3 separate regions of the Homo sapiens genome follow, and regions 1 and 3 are each linked to region 2. Evidence: promoter capture Hi-C in 16 types of primary human blood cells and fetal thymus (Javierre and others, 2016). All regions are on one chromosome and are shown on one strand. The core of a region is centred on a gene start or on the middle of the fragment in contact, and the rest is flanking DNA. Distances in the headings are between cores, read along the strand shown.

The links. Contacts are between HindIII fragments. The CHiCAGO score rates a contact against its expected background, and 5 or more counts as called.
Region 1: a contact is called between a fragment that was not itself captured here and the fragment with the promoter of CYS1 in region 2, in 1 of 17 cell types (total CD4 T cells). The highest score is 5.5, in total CD4 T cells.
Region 3: a fragment that was not itself captured here is called in contact with the fragment with the promoter of CYS1 in region 2 in 17 of 17 cell types (naive B cells, naive CD8 T cells, total B cells and 14 more); the score reaches 21.0 in naive B cells.

What each region holds. Positions count from the first base shown.
Region 1 is chr2:10,614,741-10,617,593 of GRCh38, forward strand. All of the region lies in intron 13 of NOL10 (nucleolar protein 10), which reads right to left. Among named protein-coding and RNA genes, the nearest start is that of NOL10, 74 kb to the right of the region's middle. The HindIII fragment of the contact is 5,417 bases long and covers 1-2,853 here.
Region 2 is chr2:10,078,773-10,081,667 of GRCh38, forward strand. CYS1 (cystin 1) reads right to left here and starts at 1,639. Exons shown (of 3, transcript NM_001037160.3): 1 at 1,134-1,639. The coding sequence starts at 1,451. RefSeq lists silencers at 774-1,113, 1,184-1,423, 1,484-1,543, 1,714-1,953. The HindIII fragment of the contact is 11,698 bases long and covers 1-2,895 here.
Region 3 is chr2:10,662,355-10,665,513 of GRCh38, forward strand. NOL10 (nucleolar protein 10) reads right to left here. Exons shown (of 21, transcript NM_024894.4): 9 at 605-690. Among named protein-coding and RNA genes, the nearest start is that of NOL10, 26 kb to the right of the region's middle. The HindIII fragment of the contact is 3,499 bases long and covers 1-3,159 here.

The DNA.
Region 1 (2,853 bases), core at 255-2,754, 540 kb after region 2:
TATAATGTATATACACACTATACATAGCTACATATGGTAAATATATACTAAATATAGATATACTATAAATATCACTGACCACTATTATGATTAATGATAATTTTTCTAATTACCTAGCCTGCATCTCCTGTGGGAAAATGGGATTTTGCCAATTAAGAAAACCAACTCTGCATATAAACTCAAAAGAAAATTTTCTTTTCCAGCTTTTCTTCCATTATTGTTGGAAAGGCCTCACTAGGAGCAGCAGCATGTATTTTCAAATTCTGACAGCTGAGGCTTAATAAATGATCATAAACCCAAGAGAACACTGGGTGAGCCAGAGGGAGTGGCCATGACCTTAAGCATGTAATTGCATTTGCAGCATAATGAGCTGCCTAATTGCATATCCAAGTTTACATGCATTTGTGTGAGTAATTATGAGTCATTTAAATGTACTCTACTTGTAGTGTTTTGTTCTTAAAAATCAGATTAGCAAAGAAGCAATTTAATTTCAACATTTTAAAAGATTTATTTTTAAAAAAGAAAAACTATTACCTGCCATGACTTAATATTTGAAAAGATAATTTAGGGACTGAAATGAAATAACAAGAAAAATAAGGCCAAGTTAAAAAAAAATTGTTAAGATTCCTTAAGCCACTATCTCACTAATAGCCCATCAAGCAATAGTCAATTTTTGTGACACTATGAGTAGAGATACACATGACAGAGTGCCTTCAGTCAAGGGCTAGCAGAGACAGGACGCCCCAAGCAAACATTTAAACACCAAATTAAAACTGATGTTAAGAAACACAGAGAGCTTTTGGTTAATAGTGGTACCCCCATCGCTGTCAAGCCTTTTTAAAATGACAGTAAATAACTTTTAAAAGGTATTAACCTTTAAGGACAAAAAGAACTGAAGAAGAAGATGCAGTAATTTAAGAAACTTAACCGGGTAAACATGAGAGCTTACAGAGGTGAACAGCAAAGAGAAAAGATTCCTCTCTCAGAATCCTTGGGACAAGAACTTCAAGGCTCTAAGCATGGGGGACGACAGGATGAGGCACAGGCCCGAATAAAGGGGGAACAATGGAGCTGATGAACACCCAAATCCCCACCATGCCTAAAGAGACCAGAAGATAATTCTCTGGAGGAGGGGAACCAAAGCTGCCCTATGTGCGGGGTGGGTGGGGAGTATGCCACCAGGCACAGGTGACTTGAGCTGTGGGGCTAAAGTCAGGACAATTAATGGCAGTCTAGACATCAAACTGTGGGACCCTCGCCTCCTTTTCCCAGCCCCTGGAATGCCAAAGTCAAGCCTATGCTGCTGTGCGTCCACTCTACCAGCCCAAACCCCTAACACCTCAGAACAAAACTGGGGGATTCTTCTCTGGAGTAAATGAAAGGTCCCAGAAGACAGACTTTAAGATATTGATATCTGGGTAGAGTCATTAGCTGAAGGGTCCACATGAAAACTACCAGTGGACAACACCACCCTGCATTTTTTTTTTTTTTTTTTTTTTTTTTTTTGAGGCAGAGTCTTGCTCTGTCACCCAGGTTGGAGTGCAGTGGTGCGATCTCGGCTCACTGCAACCTCTGCCTCCTGGATTCTTGTGCCTCAGCCTGCCAAGTAGCTGGGATTACAGGCGTGTGCCACTACGCCTGGCTAATTTTTGTATTTTTAGTAGAGACGGGGTTTCACCATGTTGGCCAGGCTATTCTCAAATTCCTGGCCTCAGGTGATCCGCCCGCCTTGGCCTCCCAAAGTGCTGGGAGTACAGGCATGAGCCACCGTGTCTGGCCCCAGTTGGCATTTTAGCACCTCATTCTTCATTTTTTTTTGTTTTTTTGAAACAGGGTCTCACTTTATCACCCAGACTAGAGTGCAGTGGTGCGATCTCAGCTCACCGCCACCTCAACCTCCCAGGTTCAAGCAATCCTCCCACCTCAGCCCTTCAAGTAGCTGGGACTACAGGTGTGTGCCACCATGCCCAGCTAATTTTTGTATCTTTTGTAGAGATGTAGTTTCGCCATGTTGCCCAGGCTGGTCTTGAACTCCTGAGCTATAGTGATCCACTGGCCTCGGCCTCCCAAAGTGCTGGGATTACAGGAGTGAGACACCACGTCTGGCCCTCATTCTTAAATAAGAACAGGTTGCCTAAGCTCCCTCCCCATTCACTTATTCAACAAAGAGTTACCTCCCCATTCACTTATTCAACAAAGAGTTACCTCCCCATTCACTTATTCAACAAAGAGGCAGGCACTTTCCCTTCTCTCTAGATACTCAGTGACAAAACACAGAACAATCCCCACCCTCAAGGAGCTTACCTTCCAGAAAGGGGAAACTACAAACAAGGGAGAGGCAGTGGAGAGTATGACAGACAGAGACTGGTGCTGTGGAAACTGAAGGAGAGAAGGCAATGAAGAATAGAGGGGAAGGGGAGATGATGGACAGGGACCCAAGGGGCAGGAGGGAGTGACCCTCAAGACTACCTGACAACTACAAAGGCCTAGAGGTTGGAATTGCTTGGCATGTTTGTGGATCAGTAAAAAGACCAGCCCAGTGTGGCTTGAATAGAGAGAGCAATGGTGAGCAGGGGCATTCATGAGGATCACTCTGGCAGAGGCTGGGCGACTGACTGGTTCCGGGCATTGAAGGAAATCTCTGTTTATTCATTAGCTGACAGTTCGGCAACGAGCAGAGACTTCAGTGGTCACACGTTAGAAAGAAATCAGATTTTATAGAATTAGTCCAGGACAGTCACTAAACAAACAACCACAAACCCTGGGGACCTGGGGGAGGGACTGAGTTCCATAATTCCTAAATTATGTTACTTAAAGCATCCAGCTTCCAACAAAAAAATTACAGGACACACA
Region 2 (2,895 bases), core at 389-2,888:
ACAGCGGGACCGGTGCTCAAAGGATAGCTGGAAAATGACTTAAAGAGCGAGCAGTCACCATGATGAATAATATCAGCAAATCAGAGGGCACAACATTCACTCTTGCTATTTGCCTCTCATTTTCACCTCCGAGTTTCCAAAGCACTTGAAAATGAACACTAAAATTAACTGCCTCCTTGCTATGTGTGAATTCCTCCCAAATTTCTCAGCTATTTGTCCAGGCAGTGTTATATAACTGCAGGCTGATGTGGTATTAAAGGAATCTTGTTATATAATTCAGCCCTACTCACTGCAGCTCGCTTTTCCTCTTTAAAGACCGTAAGGGAGAGGAGCAGGGAACCAGGGCCAGAGGGAGAGAGCTCTGTGCACTGTCGCCTGGGGCTGTCCCTCTCCCCCACCCTCCCTGGGGCCTTTTCAGGATTCCTTGGTGCGGTAGCCACCCAGGAAGGCATCTTCCTCGGCTCCCAGCGGCTGCTAAGCAAAGCCTCCCGGGCCTCAGGGAGGAGGACGAGGCCCTTGGCATCCTCCCCGAGCCCGGGAGCGGATGTTAAAGATCTTGTTCATTCAGCTCTGCTGGAGCGAAGACGGTTGCCAAACCAGAGTGCTTGTTTTATTGTTTTTTTAGAACAGCAGGACTGTTATTACGAGTATTCAGGGAGAGAGAATAGGAAGCGCAAAAGAGATTCCGCAGCATCCTAAAAATATCAGTAACATGAGAATTGCCTGCCCAGCAAGGCAAGGATCTGGACCGGTGGGCGCGGCAGGGCGCTTCTGAGCCACCGTCTGGCTGCCGTGCCACCACCGCCGGCGCCCCGCTCCAGGGCGGCCCGGGAAGGCCAGGCGGGGCCGCGGGCCCGAGGGGAGCCGGGAGCCCGGCGCGCTCCGCCTAGGGGTGTCCTTCCTCGGCCGCTCCCAGCGCGATCGCCCCCACGCCTGGACACAGACCCGGAGACGGGGCAGAGAGGGAGGAAACCTGGGGGCCCAGGGGCGGGGAGGCCGGGGCAGCGGGGAGCACGCAAGTCGGAGGCTGGAAGGGGGCGCAGCGCGACCGGCGCCCAGGGCTGGGGCGGGGACGCGCGGCCGGTGAGTGGGGTCCCCGCCGTCCCCCGAGGCCCTGCGGCTCCCACACTCACCGCGCTCCCCGCGACCGCGGTGGGTCGGAGCCGGGCTGGGCGGCGCGGGGCGGGCTCCGGGGGGCCCCAGGCCGCCGACTCGGCCAGCAGCTCGTCCAGCAGGCGCAGCGTCTCGTCCCTGCCGTCGGGGGGCGCCACGGGGCTGGGGTCGCGGCCGGGCGCCTCCTCCGCGGCTGCCCCCGGGACCTCGGCCGCCGCCACCGGCACCCGCCGGCGGGTCCCGCCCTCCAGGGCTGCCGCTCCGGGCCCCGCGGGGAGGCTCTCGGGGCTGCGCCGCCGCCTCAGAGTCCGGCTGCTCCGGCTGCTGCCGCTGCCCATGGCGCGCCCGCCGCCTCCCGGACCGCCGAGGGGGCCCCCATGAGGGGGCGCGGCCGGGGGCGGGGACGCTAGGGGGTGCGGCCGGGGCGGGCTGCAGGGGGAGGCGCGGGGCGAGGTCCGGGAAGCGACCGCGGCCAGGGGCTAGGGTTCCCGGGCGGGGGTCGCGGCCGGAGGACGGGGGTGCGAGCCGGAGCCTGGGGAGGGGCGGGCGAGGCAGGGCTGCATAGGCGTCCCGAGGGGGCGCACACCGGCCCTAGGGAGGGGCGGGCCCGAGACCCCGGCGAGGAGCACCGGGTGCGGGCGCGGCCTCCCCTCCCGGGTCTCCCCCTACAGTCCCCCCACTCCCGCCCACGGGTCCCCTCGCTCCCCGCCGTCGGGTCAGCCCTGTCCCGGCCTTCTGGAATTGCTGAACCCTGCGGGGGGCCCGGCTGAGTTTGTTCATTTATGGAAACGCTCCCCAGACGACGCTCGCCGGGCCCGTGGGAGGCCGCGGGAGCTTGGGGGGACTTCCCAAAGCCTGAGCCCCCTAGCGATGCGCGGGGTGGGCGGGGGAAAGACCCTGAGGGCTGCGCGCGCTGCGTTCGCGAGGTCCGGCCGTCAGTGCGCCCCGACCTTTCAGTGTCCGCCAGGCCTGAGACGCCCCGGGAGGGAAGGGGCGATCCTCCGGGCACCAACAGCCCCCTCCGGCCTTCTCCTTCCCTCTGTTGCCCCAGCGGAGACTGGATGTGTGAAGGTTGAGCCTCATCAAAACCTCCAAATAGTCACTACTTTTGGGAAAGAAAAACTTTGAAAATGAAGGAGAAAGGCAAAGCAACCCCCACCTCGCCCTCCCCCCGCCACAGGAAAGAAGCAAAAGGAAATACCTAGGTGGTGGTCATAAGTCTAGCTTTTGGTCTCGGATTTTTTTTTTTTTTCCCTTAACCGCTTTTCTTTTTAAGTGAACTAACCACAACCCAGACTAGAAAACACTCCAAAGCTGCCGAATTCAAACCCAGCGAGCCTTCCTGTTGGTTGGTTCTGTGTTTTACTTAAATGTGATTACTTCCTTCCCTTGCCCACCTCCTGCAACTTTAAATTCCAGCCTTTCCAAGACAGGGCAATTCAAAAGTCCTGGGTTTAACTCACCTATCTTGACTTGACATTAACTTTTATCCTGATTGATTGGATTCCAGAATAATTGTGAAAATGGAATTTCGGCTAAACTTTCCCAACCACAGACTTGAAATTCTACTATTTTATCACTTCAGGAGTAGACATTAAAAAACATATGCCTAAGAAAATGGAATAAAAATGGGACTCAGATTCACATCCATTTATTTTTATTATTAAGAGAGAACAAGAGGCCGGGCGCGGTGGCTCACGCCCGTAATCCCAGCACTTTGGGAAGCCGAGGCAGGTGGATCACGAGGTCAAGAGACCGAGACCATCCTGGCTAACACGGTGA
Region 3 (3,159 bases), core at 423-2,922, 580 kb after region 2:
GGAGAGTGAGCAATGTATGCTCTGGGCATGCAGGGAGACATTTAACCTGAGGTTATGTTTTCTGTAGGGCAATTTAGCAATGTACCAAAAACCTTCAAAACATGTATGCTATTTAATCCAGAAATTCAGGTTCTAGGTATCATTTCTCAGGAAATAATCATAAAACTGTAAATGGATGTATAATAGTGAAAACTCTTCTGATTGGTTTAAATGTAGAAATTAGGCAAACAGGAACAAGAAAATATTAAAAAAACACTTGCTTCCTTCCACCTTAGAATTCAAAGCACACCTCTGTGGACTTTGTGGTGGACTCCTGGTTCTATCACTAGATTCTACAAAATTGGAATACAAATTCCTGTAGTGTAATTGTTTTAATAAAATCGTACAGCAACTAAAGAAATAAGGCCTTCTGTATAGTATTTTGGAAAGAAATTCTATCTGGCTTACTCACTAGTGAGCTTTTACAGGAGAGGATCTTTATGAAAAACAATCATGGAAAGTACAATTTCAGATATCCTGTAGCAATTTATTTGAATTTAATATAGACACATTACTTAAATTAAAAGTTGATGAACATTTACATTGCAAATTAATTTCTACTTACTCTGAATCTGCTGTGACACTGTTTAAGGCGCAGTCTAACAGGCCAACTCTGTTTCGAGTTCTTGGGTCCCAGCACTCCACTCTACCCTATGCAAATGAAAAACAATTTTAAATAAAAGCTGTAGAAGGCGGGGCATGGTGGCTCATGCCTGTAATCCCAGCACTTTGGGAGGCCGAGGCGGGCTGATCACCTGAAGCCAGGAGTTTGAGACTAGTCTGACTAACATGGCGAAACTCTGTTTCTACTAAAAATACAAAAAATTAGCTGGGTATGTGGTGCACGCCTGTAATCCCAGCTACTTGGGAGGCTAAGGCAGAAGAACTGCTTGAACCCGGGAGGTGGAGGTTGCAGTGAGCCGAGATTATGCCACTGCACACCAGTCTGAGCGACAGAGCAAGACTTCGTCTCAAAAAAAAAAAAAAAGCTGCTAAGAAATCCTTAAAACACATACAAAAATAAACCACATTAACATTGTTTATTTCATAGAAAAAGTCCTTATTTTTAAGAAATCCATTTTAAAGTATTTAGGGAAGAAATATCATAATGCCTGCAACTTATTTTCAAAAGGTTCAAAAAACATTTTTAATACATGTACATTTTTATGGGAAAAGAAAATGCAAAATATATATATCACTAAACTTTTACAAAGATGTGAACTTTTTAAAAATAAAAAGCTGGGGAAAATTTTTTTTAATGAAAAGAAGAATCCCGGCCAGGCGCGGTGGCCACGCCTGTAATCCCAGCACTTTGGGAGGCCAAGATGGGGAGATCACGAGGTCAGGAGATCGAGACCATCCTGGCTAACACAGTGAAACCCAGTCTCTACTAAAAAATACAAAAAATTAGCCGGGCATGGTGGCGGGCGCTTTTAGTCCCAGCTACTTGGGAGGCTGAGGCAGGAGAATGGCATGAACCCGGGAGGCTGGAGCTTGCAGTGAGCCGAGATCGCACCACTGCACTCCAGCCTGGGCGACAGAGCGAGACTCCGTCTCCAAAAAAAAAAAAAATACAAAATTAGCCAGGCATAGTGGCGCATGCCCGTAATCCCACACACTAGGAGGCTGAGGCAGGAGAATTGCTTGAACCCGGGAGGCAGAGGCTACAGCGAGCTGAGCGTGCCACTGCACTCCTGCCTAGGCAACAGAGAGAGACTCCGTCTAAAAAAAAAAAAAACCCAAAAAAACAGAACAGGCCGGGCATGGTGGCTTATGCCTGTAATCCCAGCACTTTTGAAGGCCGAGGTAGGTGGATCACCTGAGGTCAGGAGTTCGAGACCAGCCTGGCCAATGGTGAAACCCCGTCTCTACTAAAAATACAAAATTAGCTGGGCATGGTGGCAGGTGCTTGTAATCCCAGCTATTCGGGAGCCTGAGGCAAGAGAATCGCTTGAACCTGGGAGGCAGACATTGCGGTGAGCCGAGTCCAGCCTGGGAAACAAAGCAAGACTGTCTCAAAAAAAAACAGAATGGAGAAACTGTAGTACGTCCATTTAAACTGAGTATTAGCCATTACAAAGAATGATGTGAATATACATGTACTAGAATTGTGTCCACAAAAAAGCAATTTACTTTTTTAAATGAGGGGTCGTTGTTTGTGTGTTTGAGACAAGGTCTTGTTCAGTCGCCCAGCTGGAGTGCAGGGCACAATCACAGCGTATTGCAGCCTCCACCTTGTAGGCTCAATCCATCCTCTCACCTCAGCTTCCCCAGTAGCTGCATCTATGGTATGCACCACGCCTGTCTAATTTTTGGATTTTTGGTAGAGAAGAGGTGTCGCCATGTTGCCCAGGCTGGTCTCGAACTCCTGGACTCAAGCGTTCCACCCACTCGCACTTCCAAAGAGCTGGGATGACGGACGTGAGCCACCACACCCAGCCAACATTTGTGTTTTTAAAAAAATGCTTGTGCAAACAGAAAAACCTGAGAGGATACACAGCAAATTATTAACAGTATTTACCTAAGGAAACAGGAATAGGACAGGGTGGAAGGGAATTACACTTTTCACTTTGTGTTCTTGTCTATCATTTGATTTTGTAATGATAAAACAAAAACATAAACAAAGATGTTTTAAGATTGTTTAATATATTAACTACCTTAAAAGCAAACCCTTCAATATACTTAGGAGGTTCTGACCTCATTAATCTTTTAATATTATTACAAGTAGGTATGTTGCAAAGATGAATAATCGAAGGGAAACCTTTTTAAACTACAGCAGGTAATTCCAAATGGTCTAGTCTTCTATGTCTTCTCAAAATGAGTTAATAAATTTTATGGACATAAAAAAGAAAAGTTGCATTCCAAAAACACAAAATGGGTATGCAGATAACTTCCAGTGTAAATACAAAATGTATTTTTAAGCACACTGATTTTCTATTACCTAAATTTGAATATTTCCATTGCCAAACCTCCCCTCTTAGGCACTTCAAAAAGCACAAAATGCAAACATTTAGTTTGACAATATTATGATAACTAAGAACTAAAGAAGAAACTAAAATCTGAGATGTAATATGAAAATCAATGTAAAATGAATTTGTTAAGCCTGATCTGACTATGCTT